Regions from separate parts of the Homo sapiens genome. Here region 2 is linked to region 1. Evidence: promoter capture Hi-C in human tissues and cell types (Jung and others, 2019). All regions are on one chromosome and are shown on one strand. Each heading gives the region's core, a stretch centred on a gene start or on the middle of the fragment in contact. The rest is flanking DNA. Distances are from core to core; before and after follow the strand shown. Region 1 holds the start of RILPL1 (Rab interacting lysosomal protein like 1). Region 2 overlaps DNAH10 (dynein axonemal heavy chain 10).

Region 1 (6,313 bases), core at 3,705-6,204:
TACAGACTTTAACCCTAAATTCTTTTTTTTTCTTCTCTCAACGAACTGAAGTTGATGCTGGGGTTGCTGATTCTCGCCTCTGAGTTGACCACTCAGAATCTCATGCTGCCTCCATACCAGCCCAGTGGTTCTCCGGAGAAGTCAGCCCTGATCAATCATCTCCTTCACGTTCTTCCCTCAGCACCAAGAGTCCTCAAATTCCTCATCTGAGCCTACAAGCCCCGGCACCTTCCTGATTCATCTCCCAGTCCTCTTCCTCACTTGCTCTGCTCCAGCCACACCGACTCTGTGTTCTTTGAACATGCCAAGTGCATTCCTACCTCAGGACCTTTGCACTAGCCACGTCTTCTGCCTAGAATGCCTCTCCCCCAGATCAATCTGTGGCTGGATCCTATCCTTCATTCAGATCTCAGCTCAGATGTCACCTCCTCAGGGAAGACTTCCTGACTGCCCCATCTGTTAGACTACCACCCTAGTCAGTCTCTTTCATGTCTCCCAGTTTTATTTTCTTTATGGCACTTATTATAAGCTGATTTTTTTTTTCTGAGACAAAGTCTCGCTCTGTTGCTCAGGCTGGAGTGCAGTGATATGATCTCGGCTCAACGCAACCTTCACCTCCCAGGTTCAAGCGATTCTCCTGCCTCTGCCTCCTGAGGCGTGCGCCACCACACCCAGCTAATTTTTGTATTTTTAGTAGGGATGAGGTTTTGCCATGTTGGCCAGGATGGTCTTGACCTCCTGACCTCAAGTGATCCAGCTGCCTCGGCCTCCCAAAGTGCTGGGATTACAGGTGTGAAACACTGTGCCCAGCCTGAATTTTTTTTTTTTTTTTAATCTATCCTGGCTAAGCACAGTGGATCAAACCTGTAGTCCCAGCACTTTGGGAGGACAAGACAGGAGGACTGCTTGAGCCCAAAAGCTCAAGACTAGCCTGGGCAACATAGTGACACCTTGTCTCTAAAGGAAAAAAAAATTACAGTGTGCCTGTAGTCTTAGCTACTCAGGAGGCTGAGGCAGGAGGATCACTTGAATCCAGGTGTTCAGGGCTGCAGGGAGCCGTGATGCCATCATTGCTCTCTGGCCTGGATGACAGAGTACGTCCCTGACTCAAAAAAAAAAAAAAGGAGAAAAAAAATCTCTATCTCTTCCTCATGCTAGAATAATTGCACCATCCCATGGAAAGTCAGTAGCCACACGTGGCTGTTGAGCATTTGACATGTGGCTGGTCTGAGTGGAAATGTGCAGCAGGGGTTAAAGACACACCAGATTTCAAAGATGTAGTAGGAAAAAAAGAGTGCAGAATATCAAATGATAAGTTTTTATACTGATTACATGTTGAAATGAAAATATTTTGGATCTACTGGGTCCCATAAGATATATTAAAATTAACCTCACTGGTTTGTTGTTGTTGTTGTTTTTGAGACAGAGTCTCACTCTGTCACCCAGGCTGGAGTGCAATGGTGTGATTTCGACTCGCTGCAATCTCTGCCTCCCGGGTTCAAGCGATTCTCCTGCCTCAGCTTCCTGAATAGCTGGGATTATAGGCACTCGCCACCATGCCCGGCTAATTTTTGTATTTTTAGTAGAAATGGGGTTTTGCCATATTGGCCAAGCTGGTCTTGAATTCCTGACCTCAAGTGATCCACCCGCCTTGGCCCCCCAAAAGTGCTGGGATTACAGGTGTGAGCCACCGCGCCCAGCCAACTTCACTGTTTTTTATTAACATGGCAAAGCTGCATAATATTTCTATGGTATAGCACTACACTAAAAAGTCAGGCTCATCAGGGCCAAGGCCTCATCTGTCATGGTCATTACTGTCTTCCCAGTGCCCAGAACAATGCATGGCACACAGTAGGTTCTCAGTAAATATATTCGCTGAATGAGTGAATGAATAGCATAGTCTGGTATGTTACACGCGAGTGTATCAGCCCAGCCATTGCTTTCTAGAATTTATTTGTGTTTTCCCTTTCTTCCCTGTTACCCGCCTGCTGCCTGACATGAGACTTTGCTTTTCTCTGCAGAGCCATGGTACCAAGAAGGGCACTGTGCTCGCTATGGCCTGTCATCAGAGTTGCAGACTGAGTAATGAGACAGAACATGACACAACTGTGGCCTGCATCTGAGTGATGAGTGGAAGTGAGTGAGTGGGTCTACTGAGAGGAGGAGTAGGGGGAAGAAAGTGTATGTCCTTTACTGGAGCCATAATTGCTGAAAGCGAGAGAGACAAGGAAGAAGGGGTAGGGAAGAAGAGGGGAAAGGGAAGAGGAATGGAGGTGGACAGACTAAACCAGGACATGCCAAAAACATTTTTGTGGAAATATCACCTTGAAGAGCCTTTGAGACTCTGCAGGAAAAAAAAAAAAAAATCATACAAGTCTCTCTCCATCCCAAGAATGTGAAGTAAACGGGTCTGGGGCTGGGGTGGGAAAAGAATTGCATCCTTGATTTAGAGAGGTCATCCTCAATGTAAGTCAACAAGCCCTGGCCCTGAGCGCACGGTGTTCACTTCCCAGCTGAACACTTTCCAGAGGCAACAAGTGCAGCTGCTGACAATTCCATGTGACTTCAGACCTGGTGGCCTCCGATGGCTTCCAAGGATTTCTCCCAGCTCCCCCGCAACAGAACTAAAGAGCCCCAGTTGGGGGACAGTATAGGTGCCAGGACTTCTGTGTGATCTGGTCAAAGCCCCTTGGTCCCTGTTAATAAGAGGCGCCACACGAGAGAATTTCCAAGGTCCCTTGCCTCCTTGACCCTCTATGAGAGATGGAGGCCTCTAGGGTAGGAGTAGAGGTGCTTGGGGTGGGGACGGTTTCCTAATATGAGCCTGTGAGCACCTCAATGAATGTCTCTCCAGGCCTAAAAAGAATTTTAAGACTTGCAAAGCCCTTGCTATGGGCAGGCTCTGTCCTGAACACTTTATATGTATTTATATTAACTCTTTAAACCTCATCACATTCTAATGGGGGTACTATTACTATCCCATTTTAGAACTGAGGAAACTGAAGCACAGAGATGCTGGGTGATTTGCCCAAGATCACACAGCCTGCAAGTGGTAGGGTTTGAAACCAGGCTGTCTAGCTCCAAAGTCCTAGCTTCTAGGAGTCTTGAAATTAATTACAGGTCAAAGCATTTTCAGGCTCCCAGAGTGACCTCGGAAATGCTGCTCAACTCTTGGGAGCCTGAGTTTCCTTCCTGCCCCTAGGGCATAGGGACCCATGAGGACGAGCACAGTCAAACATGGCAATGGTGCTGTTACCTACCTGTGGGTCTGCCCTCAGGTAAAGGGTTCAGACCCAGCTTTGGCTATTTTACTCCAAAACACAGAGATCCATCAAAGTACACAATAAGGGATGGCCTGCCCCTGAGGTTCAGAGAGGCCATCTGTATTTCCTGAGGCTGAACAGCAAGCTGGAGACTGCTCAGGCACCCTGATCCCTCAAGGAAAGGTGTTTCCTCCCATTCTCAGTCTGAAGGGGCTGCCAAGAGCATCCCTGGCTGAGGTTAGGGCAGGAAACCACATGTCTTTCACTTCCTTTTCTCCAGAAACCTCGTCTGAACTCCAGGCCCAGTGGGGAGGCCCTGATTCAGAGAGACTCCTGATCACAGGGCAGAGGCTTAGCCTTAAAGCCACCCCAAATCATCCCTTTCCCCCAATTCAAACAGGGTGGGGAGGAGACACGGGGGCTGGGACTCTCTCACCACTAATTTGGGACAAATTGCTCCTCCCACTGTGACCCTCGGTTTCTTTATCTGTAAAATGAAGATAGTCTCTATAGAGTCCTGTGAGGATTAAGGATAAAATCAGAGGAGAGAACACGGGCTACCACAGGTTCATAAGCTAGGGGAGTCCCGGGAAGAAAGTTGCAAATATGAACCCGAAGACTAGGGGTCACGAAGCTCAGTGGCTGGAGGTCACATTCCCTTTGCTCTGGGGAGACTGGGGGGGGGGGGGATGAAGAAAGGGTCCTGGGCCTGATGTCACATCTTCTTGGTAACTCGGGAGGCCAAGAGGCTTATTTCATGTCTGGAAGAGAATAATATGTCTAAGCACTTAGCTTATATGGTCCCATTTAATTCTTCTAAGGTGGGTCCTATTATGATTACCATTTGACAGGTGAGGAAATAAAGCACAGAGAGGTTAAGTAACTTACCTAAAGTCACACAGCTATTAAACGGTAAAGGTGGGATTGGAACTCCAGAGAACAGCTCTTAATCTCTCGGGTGGTATCTGCCAGCCACCCCTGGTCGGGCAAAAGAAGGCCAGGGCCTCCCTCCCTCCCCACGTCGGGTCTCCTCTGGTCCGGTCCCTGAACACACACACGTGCGCACCCACAGCTGCCCAATGCGGAAGAGCCCTTGGGTCCCCGCGGTCCCACTGCCCGGACGGACAGACCGAGGCCGCCGCCCACCTTCTGGTGCTTGCGCTCCTTCTCGATGCGGTCCATCCTCTCCAGGCGCAGGCGGTCCAGCTCCAGGCGCAGCTCGTCCAGCTCGGGCGCGACGTGGTGGCGGCTGACCAGCACCTCCAGGATCTCCAGGACGCGCACGACCTTGGGCATGAGGCGCGCGATGGCCTCGCAGCCGTGCTGGTCAATGACCCGCTCGAACTCGTGGCCCACAAGCGACGCGATGTCGTACACGTCCATGACGGTCAGCTCGGCCACGTTCTTCTCCAGCGCCGACTCGGCCGCCAGCGCCGACCCCCGCTCCTCCTCCATGGCCACCCTCCTGGCCTGTCCCCCGCCCCGCAAACTCGTGCAACTCCCAAACTTGCCGCTGTCGAGGGCCGGGCCGGCCGGGCCCAGCCTGGGCCGCGGGCGGGCGCGCTCAGCGGGCGCTGGGGCGAGGGCGCAGCGGGCAGCGGGCGGCGGGCGCGGGCGCGGGCACGGGCGGCGGCGCGGGGTGTGCGGGCCCGGGGTCTGGGCGCCCGGCTCGGCCCGGAGCTGCTCCCGAGTGGGCGGCGGCGGCGGCGGCGGCGGCGGCGGCAGCGGGGAGGGCGCGCGCGTGCGCAGGCCCGCGGCGCCTCCCAAGTTGGGATCCGAGTTGCGCTCAATGGAGCCGGGCCGGGCGCCTCGGGGCGGTGCGGGCCTGAGGGGCGGCAGAGCGCGGGGCCGGAGAGGAAGGGCGGCCCGCGGCTCCTCCGGGAAACTTTGGCGGCGGCGGCTGCGAGGCCGGGTGATCGCTTCCCCACAGGGAGGCCGCGCGCCCCGCCCCAATCCCGGCCTGGCCAGGGGCGCGCCCGCTTTCCGCCGCCCGGGGGCGCCCCGGGGTACCCCCCCAAGCGCCGACTCCGCGGCCTGCACTCCGGGCCCCCCTCTCCAGCCGCCGGACCCGCGGCGCCCCTCACCCGTGCCCCGGCCGCCCCTCCCCCGCCCGGCGCTGACTCCTCCCACCACCCGGCCGCCGGGAGGGGTCCAGGCCGCCCCGGGAGAGGGGGCCGGGGGCGCTGGTCTCGCGGGACGATTCGCTGCTCCGGGTAGCGGCCCCGGCCTTGGAGAGGGATGGAGGGGTCACGAGGAGGTCCCCGGGCTGGGGCTCATCCCAGGAAGAGAACGGGGACCCCCCCCGGCCCGCAGACACTCCGCGCAGACCCGGCCACCAGGCGGACTTGCAGAGGCGCCCGGAGAGGGGCCGACGTGTCGAGGAATGCTGGATCCCCGGAGCCCCAGGGCGCGCCTCCCCGAGCCACATCCATCACTGGCTCCTTGTGACATGAACGCCACTTCACAGTAGAGCGAAGCCCGCTTGGCATTCCAGCACCACGAGTTCTCTTGTCCCAAGGCCCCCTGTCCATTTGGGCTGGCCAAATCCACTTGTCCATCAGACCCCCTCCCACTCCCGGGAGAACGTTTCCTGAACCCAGAACCCCATCCACCCTCCCCGCCCCCCACGCAGGAGTTAAGGACCCCCTTGCAAACTCACAGTCCCCTGCTTGCCCCATCAGGATTGCTCTTAGCATCCTGAGTTTTCACCGTGTGGTTGCAGGTAGGTTTCCACCGTCAGATCTTGGCTCCTTGAGGGAAGAAATCTTAATGCCCTTGTAGCCATAAAGCGCACCCCAACGTGGCACGTATTGATTAAAAATCTAAAAGTTGGCCGGGCGCGGTGGCTCACGCCTGTAATCCCAGCACTTTGGGAGACTGAGGTGGACGAGGTCAGGAGTTCAAGACCAGCCTAGCCAAGGTGGTGAAACCCCGTCTCTACTAAAAATACAAAAATTAGCCGGGCATGGTGGCGCATGCCTGTAATCCCAGCTACTCAGGAGGCTGAGGCAGAGAGTTGCTTAAACCCGGGAGGCGGAGGTTGCAGCAAG
Region 2 (6,534 bases), core at 3,555-6,054, 240 kb after region 1:
GTTCTCTAATAATGTTGGTACTGCTGTCTATAGACTATTCCCTTGCCAACCACGGTGCCAATGCCCTTACCCGTGCTGTCATTTAGTCCTCCAGAATTTGGCTGGTAGATGTTACTGTCCCATTTTATGGATGCAAAAACTAATAGCAGAGAGGATTCAGACCCCTGACATTGAGTTGATGCCAAAGCCACAGTGACTTTGCACAGTGCCTTTCAAAGTAAGAGCTGAGGGAAAGCTCCCAGGGAAAGCTCCTTTCTCTAATCACCGGCCTTGTTGGATGTTCTGAGGGCTCAGACTTGGTGTCTGCTGAGGTTTCTGAATCTGTATCAATCAGAGTGGACTTGAGACAGGTGCGTCATTTCATTTAGACTGTTTTTCTTCTTGTCCCTCACAAGTTTTGCATCTCATAGTGAAAAAGGAGTAAATGCTAACATGCTAGCTGTAATTCTTTTTTTTTTTTTTTTTTGAGATGGAGTCTCGCTCTGCCACCCAGGCTGCAGTGGCACAATCTTGGCTCATTGCAACCTCTACCTCCTGGCCTCAAGCGATTCTCCTGCCTCAGCCTCCCGAGTAGCTGCGATTACAGGCATGCATCACCATGTCCGGCTAATTTTTGTATTTTTAGTAGAGACAGGGTGTTGCCATGCTGGCCAGGCTGGTCTCAAACTCCTGACATCAAGTGATCCACCCACATCAACTTCCCAAAGTGCTGGGATTATAGGCATGAGCCACTGCGCCTGGACTGTAATTCTTGTCTTTATGATAAACTCCCTTTTAAGTAAAAAACCTCAGAGAAGTCACACGGTCACAGGGTGGACACTGTACCTGAGAGAACGCAGACACAAACATGTAAAATTTCTGATGGACACCCTGTCAAAAACGAAACACAATTCTTGTCAATTACAATGTGAGTCAAGGCCACAATTTGATTGATTGGAACAGAAGGTATGCACAGCTATTTGATAACTCGCCTTTTGAATGAAATGTACTGGTGCACAAAATGCAGGGCTGCTCTTGATGGTAGGAAACCTAATTTTCTGATTATTTTCTCTTAAACTGATTGCTGTTTTGCAGCTAAGCGTGTGTCACTGAGAACCGAATCTCTAGGCCAACCTCTAAACAGAGAGGATGAAGAAATGGACAAAGAGATTTCAGAAAAACTCCCTTCCAAAGTAAGCATGGCTCTTTGTCCTTGTTGGTGGGGTAATGGGGACCCTTGATGCCCTCTAGGATTCAGGGTAACTGACATAGCCCCATCCAAGGGATTTATCATGTTGGAATGGAAATTATAGGATCCCAAGGCCACCCTCAGATTCAGTGATTGGCTGGAAGGACTCACAGGACCCAGAAAATCTGTTATATTCATAGTTATAGTTTATTACAGGGAAAGGATGCAAATTAGACTCAGCAAAAAAAGGAAAAAACGTGCACAGGACAGAGACCAGCAGAAAATAGGCACAAGCTTCCATCTGTTCCCTCCCAATGGAGTTTCATGGATAGCACTTAATTCTCCTGGTAGCTATGAGTGACAACATGCATGAAGTATTGCCAACCAGAGAGGCTCACCTGAGCCTTGCTGTCTGGGGTTTTTAATGGGGATCAGTCACACAGGCATGGAGCATCCACGTGGCTGACCTTAGTTACTCAGCTCCCCTTCATCTCCAGCCCTCACCACCACCCTAGAGGTTGAACTGATCCTGTATGACTGGGGCCCCAGCAAACAAAAACAGGCATTCACCAAACTCGCATTGTTAGCATACACCTTCAGGCATGGCCCAAGGCTACAGGTACACAAAGACTCCCATATTAGGAAGGGTATTCCAAAAGCTTGGAAGTTGTCACCCTAAGAGCCGAAGGCCGGTTCTGAAGACGTTTGGCATGTGTGGGGTTTGGACAACACAGACCTGCTAAATGAACCCTGTTCTGTGAAAACCCCAAGGTTGGAGTTTAAGGCTAGGATGTAAGCATTCAGCCTGGCCTATGCTTACCAAAATCGTGCTTCATTGCTTCATAAGTACGTCCCATCTGCAAAACAAAATTCAAGCTCCATCTGGACCTTTGCCAGGTCAGTTTGTTTAGGTGTTGCTGTACTGGTTGGTCAATAGAGGAGTCAGGCTGACAGCTCAGAGTCTGGGTGCATTTAGCTCCTGTGTTTGGCTGGTACCCACTGTGTGGCTGTGGCTACATTGTCAGAACATGAGACCAGCCATTGTGTTGAGAGGAGAGCTTAGGTGTACTTGAATATTAGGTTCTTTAGGTGAATGGATGTATCACAAGAATGAATGGTTTTTGTTCCCCATGTTTCAGAGAACTGCGAAGCACATCATGGAAAAGATGCATCTCCACATGCTCTGTACCCCTCTTCCCGAGGAGTTCCTGGACCAAAACGTGGTGTTTTTCCTCAGAAATACCAAAGGTACATTTCTGGCACGTGTGTGTGTATGTGTGTTGAGGGGGTGTGGTTGTGCATGCACTTGTTCACTCTCATTCTGTTGTCTTTTTATGGTTATCTTTCACCTATGCCAAGCTCTCTTTCTTTTCCATACTGTACTGGGTTCTTACGTAGTCTTCTCAAAGCTAATTTCCAGTAAAGAAGTGTTAGAGATAAAGAAATGTATTCAGCCAGTGATAGTGCATGTCTGCACATATTTGGAGAAGGTGTGAAGACTGAAACTTGTGAAATAATGGCTTCAGTGGGCATATTTCTTGTGTCTCTTTTGTTTCCCAGTTAGATCAAGGGAAGAGTCCAAGTAACCTTTAAAATGTTTACCATGGTGATTGATTTTTGGTCAGGTAGAGCAAATACATATCAAATAAAACCTTGTTTGTTGGAAGGGTAGATATTACCAAGTAGGTCTTTTCAAACAACCCATGACTCAAAATATGCTTTGGCAATGAATTGAGGAAGACTTGCTGGGGAGTGAAGACAGGCAAAGCCCATGCCCAAGCCAGCTTGGATGGTTGTAACAAATTGCCATAGGCTGGGGGGCTTCACCAACAAACATCTATTTCTCACAGCTCTGGAGGCTGGGAAGTCCAAATCAAGGTGCTGGCAGATCTGGCATCTGGTGAGGGCCACTTCCTGGTTCACAGATGGCACCTTCTCCTATCCTCCCATGGTGGAGAGCAGAGAGAGAGAGAGCAAGCTCTCCTGTCTCTTCCTATAGGGACACCAATCCAATCGTGAGACTCCACCCTCATGACCTAATCACCTACCAAAGGCCCCACCTTCTAATACCTTCACCTTGGGGATTTAAGCTTCAACATGTGGATTTTGGGGTCATTCAGTCCATAGCAGCAAAGAATCCAGCCAACATTTCTAGACAACCCAAATAATTTCTGATTTTGTCCAGCGTTAGATACTCCAACCAGATCAGCAAATGTGTGCAGCTCTTGTGCACTGTTCATACTAATCCACGAACCACAGTGCATTGGTATCCATTTCAGCTTCTCATGGGCCCTCAGATTTGTTTAAACACAAATAGGGGATATTCTGAATCTGTAACCAGAACATTCCTTGTAGCAGCTTGGGAAGAAGGAGAAGATTCCTGTTCTCTTGGAAATGTTAACTGTTGGCTGCTCTCTCCCACTGACCTTACATTCTACACCTGTTCTTCTTTAGAGGCAATCTCTGAAGCTACCGACATGAAGGAAGCTATGGAAATTATGCCAGAAACACTGGAGTATGGAATTATAAACGCTAATGTGCTCCATTTTCTGAAGAATATTATATGTCAGGTAAACATGGAGAAAGGAAGAAATTCTAGTATTTCTAAAGTTGAGGTCATGTGGTTTGTTTATTCCACAAATAGGTAGCGGGCAGCTCTTCTGTCTCAGGTGCTGTTATGGGCACTGAGGTGCTGAGACCAGCTCGGTTGGGGAGACCCTAACCCAGCGGCGCTAGAGAAATTAAAGACACACACACAGAAATATAAAGGTGTGAAGTGGGAAATCAGGTGTCTCACAGCCTTCAGAGCTGAGAGCCGCAAACAGAGATTTACCCACATATTTATTAACAGCAAACCAGTCATTAGCATTGTTTCTATAGATATTAAATTAACTAAAAGTATCCCTTATGGGAAACGAAGGGATGGGCCGAATTAAAGAAATAGGTGGGCTAGTTAACTGCAGCAGGAGCATGTCCTTAAGGCATAAATCGCTCATGCTATTGCCTGTGGCTTAAGAATGGCTTTCAGCGGTTTTCCACCCTGGGCGGGCCAGGTGTTCCTTGCCCTCATTCCCGTAAACCCACAACCTTCCAGCTTGGGCGTTGGGGCCATTATGGACATGTTACCATGCTGCAGAGATTTTATTTATGGCCAGTTTTGGGGCCAGTTTGTGGCCAGATTTTGGGGTCTTGCTCCCAACACTGAGGGTCAAGCAGTGGACAGGACAGGCAATGGCCCTGCTCTCCAGGAGCTTATGTAGGGGAAAGACATGGCACACAAGCACATCTATGAGAAAATACCGACAAGTGGCATGAGGAAAATAAACCCTGATATGAGACAGAAATAGGCATGTGCACTGTGTGTGTGCAGAGGGCATGGTGAGGAATGGCCTTGCTGAGGATGTGATGTCTAAGCTTTCTTTTTTATTTTTATTGTTTTTCGAGACAGGGTCTCTCCGCCATCCAGTCTGGAGTGCAGTGGCCCAATCACGGCTCACTGCAGCCTCAACTCTCAAGTGATCCTTCTGCCTCAGCCTCCTGAGTGGCTGGGATTACAGGCATACACCACCATGCCTGGCTCATTTTTGTACTTATTGTAGAGACAGGGTCTCACCATGTTGCCTAGGCTGGTCTCCAACTCCTGGGCTCAAACAATCTGCCCGCCTTGGCCTCCCAAAGTGCTGTGATTACAGGCATGAGCCACCATGCTTGGCCTGAGCTTTATAGACCAAAAAAATGAAAAACTCATCAGCAGGCCTTTTTCATGAATGATAAGTTATTAGGGAAATGCACTAGGGAAGGAAGGAAGAGGTGATATTGAACTGAGACCCAAATGAGGCCAAGGCATCAGACATGATAGGATGTGGAGGAAGAGCATGCTGGGCAGAGAGAACAGCAGGTGCAAAGGCCCTGAGGTAGAAGCAGCCTCAGCTTGGCCCAGTAGCAGGAGGATGGCCACTGTGGCTGGAGGGAGGGCTGGAAATGAAGGCAGGTTTAAGCAGGGGAACAACAGGATCTGGTTTGCATTTTACCTCTGGCTATTGTGGGAAAACATATTGCTGGGGTGGAGGGGAAGGAAAGACCAAATAGAAAGCCATGGAAGAGCCCAGGTGGAGGGCTGTATTAGTCCATTTTCATGCTGCTGTAGGGAACTGCCCATAATTTATAAAGGAAAGAGGCTAAATTGAGTCACAGTTCTGCATGGCTGTGGAGGCCTCAGGAAACTTAAAATCATGGTGGAAGGGGAAGCAAACACATCCTTCTTCATATGACGGCAGGAAGGAGAAGTGCTGAGCAAAGAGGGAAAAGCCGCTTATAAAACCATCAGATCTCATGAGAACTCACTCACTATCATGAGAACAGTGGCATGGGGGTAACCTCCCCCATCATTCAATTACCTCCCACCAGGTCTCTCCCATGACACGTGGGGATTATGGGAACTACAATTAAAGATGAGATTTGGGTGGGGACACGGCCAAACCACATCAAGGGTGATGGTTATTTAGGCTCCAATCAGGGGAGGGAGGGAGAAGCAGACAGTGTGAGGAATGCCTTGAGGATCAGGCCATGGGACTTGCTAATGACCGGGATCTGGAGGCTTTGAAGAGTATCACAAGAATAGAGAGTACCAAGAATGACTCTTGGTCCCAGCACTTTAGGAGGGTGAGGCGGGAGGATCGCTTGAGGCTAGGAGTTTGAGAACAGCCTGGGCGATATAGCAAGGCCCCATCTCTAAAAAAAAATTTAAAAAAGAATGACTCTTAGGATTTGGGCCTGAGAAACTGGGAGGATGGTGAAGTCATTACTGAGATGGAGGATGGGGAGAAACAGATATGGAGGGAAACTCAAGTGTTGTATTTTGCATTCTAGACGGGAAGGTTGCAGAGTATGGTGGTCATGCCACTGCACTACAGCCTGGGTGACAGAGAGATATTCCATCTCTAAAAAAAAAAAAAAGAAAAATAAATTAAGATAACATCAAAACATGATGTATAATGTTAAGCACAGGTGGCCTCTTAGACATTCAAATCAAGACGTGAAGCAGGATGTATGAATCTGGAGCTCTGCGGGGAACTCAGGGCATCCGTCTAGCAAATATTCATTGAGCACCTACTGTATTTCATAGCAATGAACAACTGAGACAAGGTCTCTGCCTCGTGGAGCTTTCATTCTAGACAGGAAGATGTACATTAACCAAGATCAATGAGAAAATATATAGTGTGTTAGACAGCAACAAGAGTTAGGGAGAAAAATGAAGCCAGATAGGAAAGAAAAAGGAAACAAGGGGGAGAGGGAAAGTTGATAGGTGGAAAGGTGGGGCTTTTGCAATTTTAGATAGGGTGGCCAGGAAGACTTCACTGAGAAGA

The links. The method cuts DNA at HindIII sites, captures the fragments that hold promoters and counts their contacts. A contact is called where the count stands out against the background at its distance.
Region 2: a contact is called between a fragment that was not itself captured here and the fragment with the promoter of RILPL1 in region 1, in 2 of the 25 tissues and cell types used here (lymphoblastoid cells and spleen).

The regions. Positions count from the first base shown.
Region 1 is chr12:123,528,765-123,535,077 of GRCh38, forward strand. It overlaps RILPL1 (Rab interacting lysosomal protein like 1), which reads right to left and starts at 4,955. Exons shown (of 7, transcript NM_178314.5): 1 at 4,410-4,955. The coding sequence starts at 4,718. RefSeq lists an enhancer at 3,956-4,773 and silencers at 4,989-5,678, 5,698-5,883. The HindIII fragment of the contact is 25,082 bases long and covers 1-6,313 here.
Region 2 is chr12:123,770,527-123,777,060 of GRCh38, forward strand. It overlaps DNAH10 (dynein axonemal heavy chain 10), which reads left to right. Exons shown (of 79, transcript NM_001372106.1): 3 at 1,075-1,172; 4 at 2,308-2,416; 5 at 3,623-3,738. The region is part of intron 4 of LOC105370044 (a long non-coding RNA gene); the gene reads right to left. Among named protein-coding and RNA genes, the nearest start is that of DNAH10, 11 kb to the left of the region's middle. The HindIII fragment of the contact is 6,321 bases long and covers 1,645-6,534 here.